Linked DNA regions of Homo sapiens: region 2 is linked to region 1. Evidence: promoter capture Hi-C in 16 types of primary human blood cells and fetal thymus (Javierre and others, 2016). All regions are on one chromosome and are shown on one strand. Each heading gives the region's core, a stretch centred on a gene start or on the middle of the fragment in contact. The rest is flanking DNA. Distances are from core to core; before and after follow the strand shown.

Region 1 (5,661 bases), core at 1-2,500:
GAGCCTGAGCCCAACAGAGTCCTGGCCCCAGGTATGAAGCTGGTGGGAGGCTCCCACTTACCGTCAGGAAGGGGTTGCCCTCCAGGCTGAGTTCCTCGAGCTTGGGGAACTGGCACAAGGCAGTAACATCCCCCAGCTGGTTGTTGGCGCAGCGGAGGACACGCAGGTGGGACAGGCCCAGGTTGTCCGGCAGCGTCTCCAGGTGGTTGTTAGACAGGTCAAGCTCCTGCAGCTGCGTCAGGCGGCACAGGAGTTTGGGGTCCAGGTGCTCGGAAAGCAGCTCCAATCCTGACAGGCTGGAGTTGGGGGCAGAAGGCTTAGGGGGCGGGCAGGCTTTGCACCCTACACCAATCTGCCCCGGGTACCTCAGAAGGCTTTTTCACCTGACATTTCTCGTACAAGTGTAGCCGCCCCGCCCATCCCCCCGTTACTTTATTTTTAGAGACGGGGTGTCACTCAGTCGCCTAGGCGCGATCATAGCTCACAGCTGCCTCCAACTCCTGGGCTGAGGGATCCTCCCGCCTCAGCCTCTCGAGTAGCTGGGACTAGAAGCGCGCGCCACTACTCCCGACTCCACACCACTTAACAAAAAAAAAAAAAAAAAAAAAAAAAAAAAAAAAAAAGCTGCAACTACTTTAGGACTCGGGGGCATCCTAGCCCCCTCTAGGATGCTCTTCCTGATCCTTCGGGGGCTCGTCTGTGCTTCCCAGGCCCTCTAACGATAGCGGCAGGCTGTGCCCCTAACTGTCCGGGCTCCCTTCAGGGGATGAGGCCCCTCGGGGCTCCCGGCGAGCGGGTGGGGCCACGATCTCCCAACAAGAAGACATTTGGACCACTCTGCCGAACCCAGAGGGCGATAACGGGGACAAGCGGGCCGTTGGGGAGGGTCCCCGCTCTTCTCCCCGACCGCCCGGCCCCGAGGACACAGCCTCACCCGCTGCCCGGCTCTTACTCCAGACTCCGGATCTTCCCCAGCCGGTCGCTCTTGGGGCGCCCGCGCTGCATTAGCAGCCGCGCCGAGAGGGGGCCCATGGCGAGGAGGCGCAGCCCGCGCTGACCCAGTCGGCCACCCCGGCGTGTGGCGTCGCCCTGCGTCTCCTGGAGCCCGGCACTGGCGTCCGCGGTAACTGAGCCCAGGAGGCGGCGCCGCGCGAGCCCGTGGGCGTTAACGACCGGAAGGAAGCGGAACCCAGGCCTCGTGCCCCCGCCCGGCGCGGACTACAACTCCCAGCGGCCCCCACGGCCGCGCCTGCGCACTGGCCACGCGGACGGCGCGATGGCGGCGGCTGCCGCCGAGACCCCCGAAGTCCTTCGGGAATGCGGTTGCAAGGGCATCCGGACCTGTCTGATCTGCGAGCGGCAGCGCGGCAGTGACCCGCCCTGGGAGCTGCCCCCAGCGGTAAGGGGTGGGAGAGGGGCCGCGCCCACAAACGTCGCTCTGCATCTGGGGAAACTGAGGTCCAGCTTGGCCATGATAGGGGCCGGGATCGAAGCCTGTGAGGGACCCTTACGGTAGGGGTGATGCAGGGTGAGGAGATGAGGGCTTTAAGGAGCGGGCTTGGGAGTGGGGAAGGAGCTGGAACGTGGGTGGGTTCGATTACAGGTCACCTCGGGGACTCTGGGGGGATCTGCCTGTAAACCTCGACGTAGCCTCTCGGGTCTGGCGCTGGGAGCTTCACGGGCCTGCAGGGAGATGACACGGAAAGGGTCGATCGAGGGTGCTGAATACCAGTCCAACGGTGCCTGAAGGCCGTGGACTGCAATGGGCAAGGAGACAGTGAATTCCAGTTAACTAACGAAAAGGAACTCAAGGATCGCTGCAACCCAGGAGCTGGAGGCTGCAGTGAGCTATGATCGAGCCACCTCACTTCAGCCTGGGCGACAGAGCGAGACTCTGTCTCACAAAAAGAAAATAAATAAAAAAAGAAAAAGAACTCAGCGCCTTTGGGCTGGCATGGAAGGACTGTGGTTGGTTGCAAGGGCATTCCAACCCAGAAAACTGCGTGGGGTAGGAAGGTGGATTGGTGATGCCTCAGGTGAGAGAGATGAGGCTGGAGAGGTTGTGGGGGGGGGGAGGTCTGATCACAGATGCTCCCCGGTGCATCAGCTGAGCAGGCTGGACTTGTCCCAAAGGCCCTGGAGAGCTCTTGAAGGGTTTTAAAGGAGTGATGAAGTCAAATGTGAATTTTAGAAAGATCCTGGGAAGGGAACGGGCAGATATGAAGGTGTGGAGGCTGGTAAGCCAGTGAAGACTGCCCCAACGTCCATGGTAAAAGTGCCCAAGGTCCTATGGAAACAGCATGGCATGCCTCATGAATTAAACATAGAATTACCCATGATCCGCAATCCTGCTTCTGGGTATATATCCAAAGGAACTAAAAGCAGGGTCTGGAAGAGATATTTGCACACCCATGTTCATATTCACGACATTATTCATGACAGCCCAAAGATGGAAGCAAACCAAGCATCTATCAAGATACCTGGGCCGGGTTCAGTGGCTCACGCCTGTAATCCCAGCACTTTGGGAGGCTGAGGTGGGCAGATCACCTGAGGTCAGGAGTTTGAGACCTGCCTGGCTAACATGGCGAAACCCTGCCTCTACTAAAATTACAAAAACTTGCCGGGCTTGGTGAGGCACATCTGTAATCCCAGCTACTCGGGAGGCTGAGGCAGGAGAATCGCTTGAACCCAGGAGGCAGAGGTTGCAGTGAGCCAAGATCGCACCACTGCACTCCAGCTCAGGTGACAGAGCAAGACTCCTTCTCAAAAAAAAAAAAAAAAAAAAAAAAAGAGATGACTTGATCCACAAAATGTGGTGCATACACATAGTAGAATACTATTCAGCCTTAAAAAGGAAGGACAGGCCGGGCACAGTGGCTCACACCTGTAATTCCAGCACTTTGGGAGACCGAGGCAGGCAGATTGCCAGAGCCCAGGAGTTTGAGACCAGCATGGGCAACATGGTGAAATCCCACCTCTACAAAAAAATTAACCATACATGGTGACACGTACCTGTAGTCCCAGCTACCCAGGAGGCTGAGGTGGGAGGGTTGCTTGAGCCTGGGAGGTCAAGGCTGCAGTGAGCTGTGATCACGCCACTGCACTCCAGCTTGGGCAACATAGTGAGACCCTGTCTCAAAAAAAAAAAAAAAAAAAAGGACATTTTGACATATGTTACAGCATGGACGAACCTTGGGGACACGATGCTAAGTTAAGGAAGCAGTCACAGAAGACAAATACTGCATGATTCCTGTTGTGTGAGCTACGTAGGGTAGTCACAGGGACAGAAAGTAGAAGGGTTGTTGCCAAGGGCTCAGGAAGGGGAGATGGGGACCTGTTGTTTAATAGGGAAAGAGTTTCAGTTTTGCAAGATGAAAAAGTTCTGAATGGTGGTGACGGCTGTACAACAATATGAATGAACTTAAGAGTTTTAATTTGTGGAAGGGGCCAGGTGCGGTGGCTCATGCCTATAATCCCAGCCCTTTGGGAGGCTGAGGCAGGAGGCTCGCCTGAGTCTAGGAGTTTGAGACCAGCTTGGACAACATAGCAAGACCCTGTCTCTACAAAAAATTTAAAAATTAGCTAGGTGTGGTGGTGTGTGCTTGTAGTCCCAGTTACTTGGGAGGCTGAGGTGGGAGGATTGCCTGAGCCCAGGAGGTCAAGGCTGCAGTGAGCTGTGAGCGCCACTACACTCCAGCCTGAGTGACAGAGCGAGACCCTGCCTCAAACAAAAAAAAAGAAAAGAAAAAAATTGCGGAAAGTCTGACCCGTTCCAGTGGCCATGTGGAGGTGACATCTTCCCAACCCGATGGCTATGGAACAAGGAGAGTGAGGTATCCAGGATCTCAGGGCACTGGGGCAGTTCCTCACTGGCTTTCCAGCCTCCACCCTTCATATCTGCCCCTCCCCCCTCCAGATCTTTCTAAAATTCACATTTGACCTCGTCACTCCTTTAAAACCCTTCAAGAGCGCTCCATGGCCTTTCGGACAAGTCCAGCCTGCTCAGCCGACACACGGGGGACTCCCAGTTTTAATGTTTCCCGTGGGAGGGCCCCAGGAGCAGGAGGAGATAGTGCCAATCTCAGGAGGGGTCTGAGCTGGAGTCGGTGGCTGGAAGTAAAGCATTGGAAGGGGCTGAGGTCCCTGGAGGGAAGAACAGAGAAAGACAGCGGCCCACAGTGAGTGGCAGCCCAGGGTGTGAGGAGCCTGGAGATGGAAGAGGAAGAGGAGACAGGCCACAGAGCCCAGGGCTGAGTTCTGGTGGCCTCCGAAGTCCTCACTGGGTGACTCCGGCCAGAACCTCCACACCTCCTGCCCATGATAGTTATGGTACCTTCCTCTTGGGGCTGTCCTGGGGATGAAACTAGATAATCCATGTAAAATGTTCAGTGCCACAGATGCAAATACTGGCTATTTCATTGGCGAAACTCTTTTTTAAAAATTTACTATTGGCTGGGCATGGTGGTTCACGCCTGTAATCCCAGCACTTTGGGAGGCCAAGGCGGGAGGATCACAAGGTCAGGAGTTCAAGACCATCCTGGTCAACATGGTGAAACCTCGTCTCTACTAAAATACAAGAAAAAAATTAGCTGGGCATGGTGGCGCGCACCTGTAGTCCCAGCTACTCGGGAGGTTGAGGCAGGAGAATCGCTTGAACCCAGGAGGTAGAGGTTGCAGTGAGCCGAGATCGTGCCACTGCACTCCAGTTCTGGTGACAGAGCGAGACTCCATCTCAAACAAACAAACAAACAAACAAAAAGTATTATTATTATTTTCAAGATGGGGTCTCACTGTGTCACCCAGGCTGGTGTCCACTAGCACGATCTTGGCTCACTGCAATCTCCACCTCCCGGGTTCAAGGGATTCTCCTGCCTCAGCCACCTGAGTAGCTGGGATTACAGGCATGCACCACGACGCCCGGCTAGTTTTTGTATTTTTAATAGAGACGGGGTTTTGCCATGTTGGCCAGGCTGGTCTTGAACTCCTGACCCCAGGTGATCAGTCCACCTTGGCCTCCCAAAGTGTTGGGATTACAGGTGTGAGCCACCGTGCCTGGCCTGGTTTCTAGACTTTCTTTAGCATGGGGGAACCCTTAGAGTACCGCCAGGCCTCGGGGTTGGTGGCAGAGCAGAGAGGGACATGGGGTGGGAGTTGAGTGACAGCCCAGGGTATGAGGATTGAGGGGTGATGCTGGGTCTGGAAAGGTGCCCTGAGGACAAGAGTGAGGAGAAGGGAGGTTGGGACACTGAGGAGCTCAACTGAACGCTCAGCTCTGTAGGGAAGTTGGCTGCCCTCCTAGGTGACCCTCACGCTGGTGATAGGCACGGGCCAACCCCTGGGACACCGGGGTGGCATCAGCAAAGACCTAAAGAGATTAGGGTGCACAGATTCAAGGTAGTCAGGCAGTTTGGGGCCTCCTGGAAGCAGCTGAGGAGATGGGAGTGCAGGAGGTGCTGTCCAGCCTCGGGCTGGTTCCTTAACTTTGCTGAGCCTCCTTTGTAAAATGGAGAAGGAAAAACATGTTGTACAAACCCTTCTCTTTTACAGGGGAGGAAAGTGAGAAAGGAAACCAATCAAATTCGTGTTAGCTCAAGAGGGCTGCGGGCCTTCCCCGGTCAGCCTGGGGCAGAGGCTCTGCCTGCACCTCCCCCTAGACTCCAG
Region 2 (5,661 bases), core at 1,742-4,241, 70 kb after region 1:
AACAAAAACAAAAACAAAAAAAACCGCAATACTGCAGGAGAAAATTCTATAGTGCCAAACCATAAGCAACTATAGCCCTTAAGCTAAATTTACCAATGTCAAATGAAAAACAAATAAAAGCAACTATATCCCCGTCATTGTAAAAGCAAAACACGAACATGTGAACACACATTTCCCCTCATCAGAGATTTAACAAATACCAACTACAGGATTTTTATAGCTACCTTTTTTTTTTCTTTTTGAGACAGAATGTCGCTCTGTTGCCCAGGATGGAGTGCAGTGGCGCCATCTCGGCTCACTGCAAGCTCCGCCTCCTGGGTTCACGCCATTCTCCTGCCTCAGCCTCCCAAGTAGCTGGGACTACAGGTGCCTGCCACCACGCCCGGCTAATTTTTTTTGTATTTTTAGTAGAGACGGGGTTTCACCGTGTTAGCCAGGATGGTCTCGATCTCCTGACCTCATGATCCGCCCGCCTCGGCCTCCCAAAGTGCTGGGATTAGAGGCATGAGCCACCACGCCCAGCCTATAGCTACCTTAAAAAATTATATTTACACACACACACACACACACACACACACACAGCCATTACCCATGACATCTCGGACAAATTCTGGGGGAGGTCGAGGTGCCCATTCACTCATTTTCTCTGGAATTGGAACTGCTTTGTCCTGCAACATTTAAACATGAAAGCATTTAAGTATAAACCTGTTGACAAAATTATATATCTCCCTCTCTTTTTTTAGAGACAGGTTCTTGCTCTGTTCCTCAGGCTGGAGTGCAGTGGTGCAATCAGAGCTCACTGCAGCCTTGAACTCCTGGGCTCAAGTGATCCTCCCGGTTCAGTCTCCAGAATAGTTAGGACTCTCAGGCGTACACCACCACACCAGGCAATTTTTTTATTTTTGTAAAGACAGGGACCCACTATGTTGCCCAGGCTGGTCTTGAACTCCTTCCTGGCCTCGGACCATCCTCCCGCCTGGCCTCCCAAAGCGCTGAAATTACAGGCAGGGGCCACAGCACCCAGCCCAAGTTACATCTCTTAAGACCAAAGAATTTTAATTGACTAATGAAGCAGGACTGCTTTGCTACTTGGACACAGAGCTGATTTTGTGTTCTTCCCTCTGTCGTGGCTTTTTTCATCCTATGTACTCTTGGGTATAACACAGTCCACACCTTCCCAGGGCTACGCTTTCCAGAGCAGAACTGAAAAACCTAAGCCATAGTTTCCAGCTAGAAACCGCCAACTTTAACACTACTAGATAAGAAGAGTCAAGCTTTTCTAGTTAAAGGTATAAAGGACGTTCCCGTTCAATTGTTTTTATGATTGAGGGGACCGAGGCCCAGAGGGGGTGTGAGCGGGAGAGGAGTGACCAGCTCCAAACGTCTCGGCCACTGTCTCTCTAACGATCAGTGTTGTTTAGAGTATACCCTTTTGCTAACCCACAAATTCTACCTTTTCAGTCTAACGCTTTTTGTTCACAGAAAGTTAAACCAGAAGGGGTCTTGGAGCACGGGAAGCCGCTCCACCGTGCTTTGATTCAAGCTGGGCTCTCACACAAGGACAGACGGGAAGTTCACTATCTCCGGGACAGCCTCCTTCTCCTCCTCCTCCCCAAAGACTGCTCTTGGAGGGTCGGATACTGAGTTTCTGAGTTTGGAGGCGGGGAAGGTGGACCTGCGGGAACCCTGAAGCGCTGCAGAGGAAGGGGGTGGGCCTCGGACGGGCCGTGGAGCCTGGGCCTCGTCTCACCGGGTTCTTCATGAGCCGCTCCAGCTTGAGCTTCTGCTCCTCCGCCGCATTCTTGGGGATGACGAGCGTCTGCGGCTCTTTCTTGGGCCTCGGTGGTCGCACCGAGGAGGCGGCTGGGCTAGCCATGGCAGCCTTCCAGTTTCACAAGCGAGCGGCGGCGTCGGCGCGCAAGTATGACGACACAGCCGCGCGCCGGCGACGCATACGCAGTCTCCGCAGAGGGGAACGGAGGCGGGGTTGCAAGGCGCAAGCAGCCTGCTGAATATTCATGAGCCTGAGGCTGGCGTGGGTTATTGTGTTCAAAGCTGCGGGGTTTCATTTCCTGTTCCTGAACAACAAATCAGTGCAGCTAGATGCTCACGTCCCTGAAGGGGAGGTGGCCCTCCGTGCCTGAGTAGCCTGGCCCTAGCCGACCTCTCCAGTCCCCGCGGGCGTCTTCGTGCCACCGAGCAGCCCCGCTGATGCTCTCGGCACCTCCTCCCCGTCGGCTCTCCTCGCCTCCCGGCTTTGTCCGGGCACTTCCTTGGATCTGGTGCCCCCTCCTCCATTTCTGACAATCTCCTGTTTACATAAGACAGCGCAAACATGTCACTGAGCTTCCTGAAGACTGGGACATTCCTCCTTTGTCCGCCTTGAATTACTCTATACCTGGCCCCCCGCAAATACACCTCTGCCAATGAATGACCGTCTCGTAGTGTGAGGCACAGTAATAAACCTAAGGAACCATGTCTGCTCATTCTGCTTGCGAGCAGGATTTCACAAAGGCCGTGACTCGGTGACTGAGCGCAGCCCTCTCCAATAACGCCCTGAACAATAAGCTGGGAAGAGCGAGAGAGAACACAGGTTTCCACCTCTCTTGCCTGAACACTGCATTTTTAGAAAAGACAAGTTCAATGATCCTAGCCCCTGCCTCTTCCTGTACATAATCTCTGACGGGATTAATGATTATGCTTCTATAACTTTTTTTTTTTTTTTAGAGACAGGGTCTCGCTTGGTTGCCCAGGCTGGAGTGCAGGGGCTCGATCATAGGTCACTGCTGCCTTGAACTCCCGGGTTCAGGCACTCCTCCCACCTCAGCCTCCTGAGTAGCTGAGACTACAGGCGCATGCCACCACACCCAGTTAATTTTTTATTTTTATTTTTTGCAGAGACAAGGTGTTGCTGTGATGCCCAGGCTGGTCTTGAACTCCTGGGCTCAAGCGATCCTCCTGCCTGGGCCTCCGAAAGTGCTGAAATTATAGGTGTTAAGTCACCATGCCCAGCCAAGCCTCTGTAATCTGTAACTAGATAATACCCTCACACACAGCCTTGATGAAATTTTGCTCTATTGTTAACTTCTGAGCACATTAGATATAACTTTTTTTTTTTTTTTTTGAGACAGAGTCTCACTCTGTCCCCCAGGCTAGAGCTCAGTGATGCAATCTCGGCTGACTGCAGCCTCTGCCTCCCAGGTTCAAGTGATCCTCCTGCTTCAGTCTCCTGAGTAGCTGGGAATACAGGTGCACGCCACCACGCCTGGCTAATTATTGTATTTTTAGTAGAGATGGAGTTTCACCATGTTGGCCAGGCTTGTCTCGAACTCCTGACATCAGGTGATCCACCCGCCTCAGCCTCCCAAAGTGCTGGGATTATAGGCATGAGCCACCACGCCCAGCTTGATATAACTTCTGAGCACATGCAGGGCACCACCAACTGTATATAAATGTTTTTATATAAACTGTATATAAATATAAATATATAAATGTGTGCTGAAACTCTGTTTTGGAGCAGTTTAACAAACTCTGTGAAAGACTTTCCCTGGTTACAGTCCTCAGTAAGATTGCAAAAAACCAACCTTAATTTTTTAAAAGCCTGATTTTTTGTTTAGTTGACATTGAGAAACAGAAAAGGCCCGGCATGGTGGCTCACACGTGTAATCCCAACGTTTTGGGAGGCCGAGATGGGCAGATCACTTGAAGTCAGGAGTTTGAGACCAGCATGGCCAACATGGTGAAACCCCATCTCTATTAAAAATACAAAAATTAGCCAGGTGTGGTGGTGTGTGCCTGTAATCCCAGCTATTCAGGAGGCTGAGACAGGAGAATAGCTTGAAACTGGGAGATGGAGGTTGCTGTGAGCCAAGATCGTGCCACTGCACTCCAGCCTGGGTGACAGAGCAAGACTCTGTGTCTAAAAAAAAGAAAAAGAAAAAGAAAAAAAAATTAGAGAGAGAAAGAGAAAGAGAAAAGCTGTTGCTCACATACATTTGGTGTTACAGACCATAGGCTGTTTGGCTCCCCTTGTAATGAAACTTAACAGGGATCCAAGCAGATTTCCCAGACAAGGCATTTATTTCAGAGCTTGTGCTTGAGTGCAGGGAAGACAATGGAAGCAGAAGTGAAGGGATCCTCCAGCTGACTTGTGGAAGAGCCAGTGGGGAATTTTTTTTTTTTTTGTGAGACAGAGTGTTGCTCTGTCGCCAGGCTGGAGTGCAGTGGTGCGAACTCAGCTCACTGCACCTCCGTTTCCCAGGTTCAAGCAATTCTCCTGCCTCAGCCTCCCGAGTAGCTGGGACTACAGGTGCACGCCACCACGCCCGGCTAATTTTTTGTCTTTTAGTAGAGACAGGGTTTCACCATGTTGGCCAGGATGGTCTCAATCTCCTGACCTCATGGTTCGCCCGCCTCGGCCTCCCAAAGTGCTGGGATTACAGGCATAAGCCACTGCGCCTGGCTGGGAATTTTTTTTATTAGGCAAAGCATGGGAATTGACATCAGGGGTAGGGTATGCAGGCTGGGCTGGGCAAAGCACGTGAGGGTATGCAGGTCGCATATCTGGTTTTGAGGGTATGCAGGTCGCATATCTGGTTGCGATGGTTATCTTAAGTAATGAGTCACCTGGTAGTCTGGCTGGTGGCAACAAGGGTGTCAATCAATTGTTCAGCATTCCTTCCCGAGGTGGGACACTCCGCAAGCTTCATTTGATATTTGGATCTCCTAAGGCCAGTCTCTGGAATTCTTTTTTTTTTTTTTTTTTTTTTGAGACAGTTTCGTTCTTTATTTTCTTTGTATGACTAAAGCCTCGGGGTTAGCAGCTATATTGTCAGCGAGGCAATGGTGTGGGTTTTGTGATCAGTGGGACAAAAGAAGGAAAAAGGGAAAGGATGTGAAGGAGAAGCTCTGTCCAGTTCCTGTTCTGTTTCCCTGGGAGCTGGACAGACATTCACAGCTGGGTCTTGGTGTTCTCTTGTCAAACAAAAGTAATTTCCAGGACACCAACATCACACAAGACCATTCCGTGACCACAAAAACCTGGTGTGGTGGCTCATGCCTGTAATCCCAGCACTTTGGGAGGCCGAGGTGGGCAGATCACCTGAGGTCAGGAGTTTGAGACCAGCCTGGCCAACATGGTGAAACCCCGTCTCTACTAGAAATACAAAAAATAGCCAGGCGTGGTGGTGCACACCTGTAATCCCAGCTACTCGGGAGGCTGAGGCTGGAGAATTGCTTGAACCTGGGAGGCAGAGGTTGCAGTGAGCTAAGATTACGCCTTTGCACTCCAGCCTGGGCGACAGAGCAAGACTCTGTCTCAAAATAAATAAATAAATAAAAATAAAAATAAAAGAAACATTTGCTGGAGGGACATGGGCTCCTAGGGACAGGGTCGCCCTCCCACTGAGTCCCCAAGAGGATGAACAGGTGGACAAGTGGATGGTACCTGGAGGGTGAAGTGTTTGTTCTCCAAAGGTCATTCCTGGCTGCCCAATAGTGGGTGGTTTTCTAGGAGCTCAGGGTGGAATTAAGGGTCCTTAGTGGCCCAGGTCTGTCACTGGAACCTGGGGAGGGCTTGGCCTGGCTGGGGCCATGCACACAAACTCACCCAGGATCACACACATTAGCAACCAGTACCTCACTTTTCTCCAAACACTCCAC

The links. Contacts are between HindIII fragments. The CHiCAGO score rates a contact against its expected background, and 5 or more counts as called.
Region 2: a fragment that was not itself captured here is called in contact with the fragment with the promoter of ALKBH4 in region 1 in 7 of 17 cell types (total B cells, naive B cells, total CD8 T cells and 4 more); the score reaches 8.6 in total B cells.

Annotation. Positions count from the first base shown.
Region 1 is chr7:102,460,452-102,466,112 of GRCh38, reverse strand. ALKBH4 (alkB homolog 4, lysine demethylase) reads left to right here and starts at 1,250. Exons shown (of 3, transcript NM_017621.4): 1 at 1,250-1,399. The coding sequence starts at 1,277. LRWD1 (leucine rich repeats and WD repeat domain containing 1) reads right to left here and starts at 1,129. Exons shown (of 15, transcript NM_152892.3): 1 at 953-1,129; 2 at 62-296. The coding sequence starts at 1,032. It overlaps MIR5090 (microRNA 5090), which reads right to left and starts at 371; the gene lies at 287-371. RefSeq lists enhancers at 1-201, 479-578, 202-728, 858-1,507 and a silencer at 919-1,348. The HindIII fragment of the contact is 18,940 bases long and covers 1-5,661 here.
Region 2 is chr7:102,392,627-102,398,287 of GRCh38, reverse strand. It overlaps PRKRIP1 (PRKR interacting protein 1), which reads right to left and starts at 1,925. Exons shown (of 6, transcript NM_024653.4): 1 at 1,751-1,925; 2 at 590-668. The coding sequence starts at 1,876. It overlaps LOC100630923 (LOC100289561-PRKRIP1 readthrough), which reads right to left. Exons shown (of 9, transcript NR_038967.1): 5 at 590-668. RefSeq lists enhancers at 1,407-1,948, 1,730-1,969 and a silencer at 1,990-2,069. The HindIII fragment of the contact is 3,429 bases long and covers 1,277-4,705 here.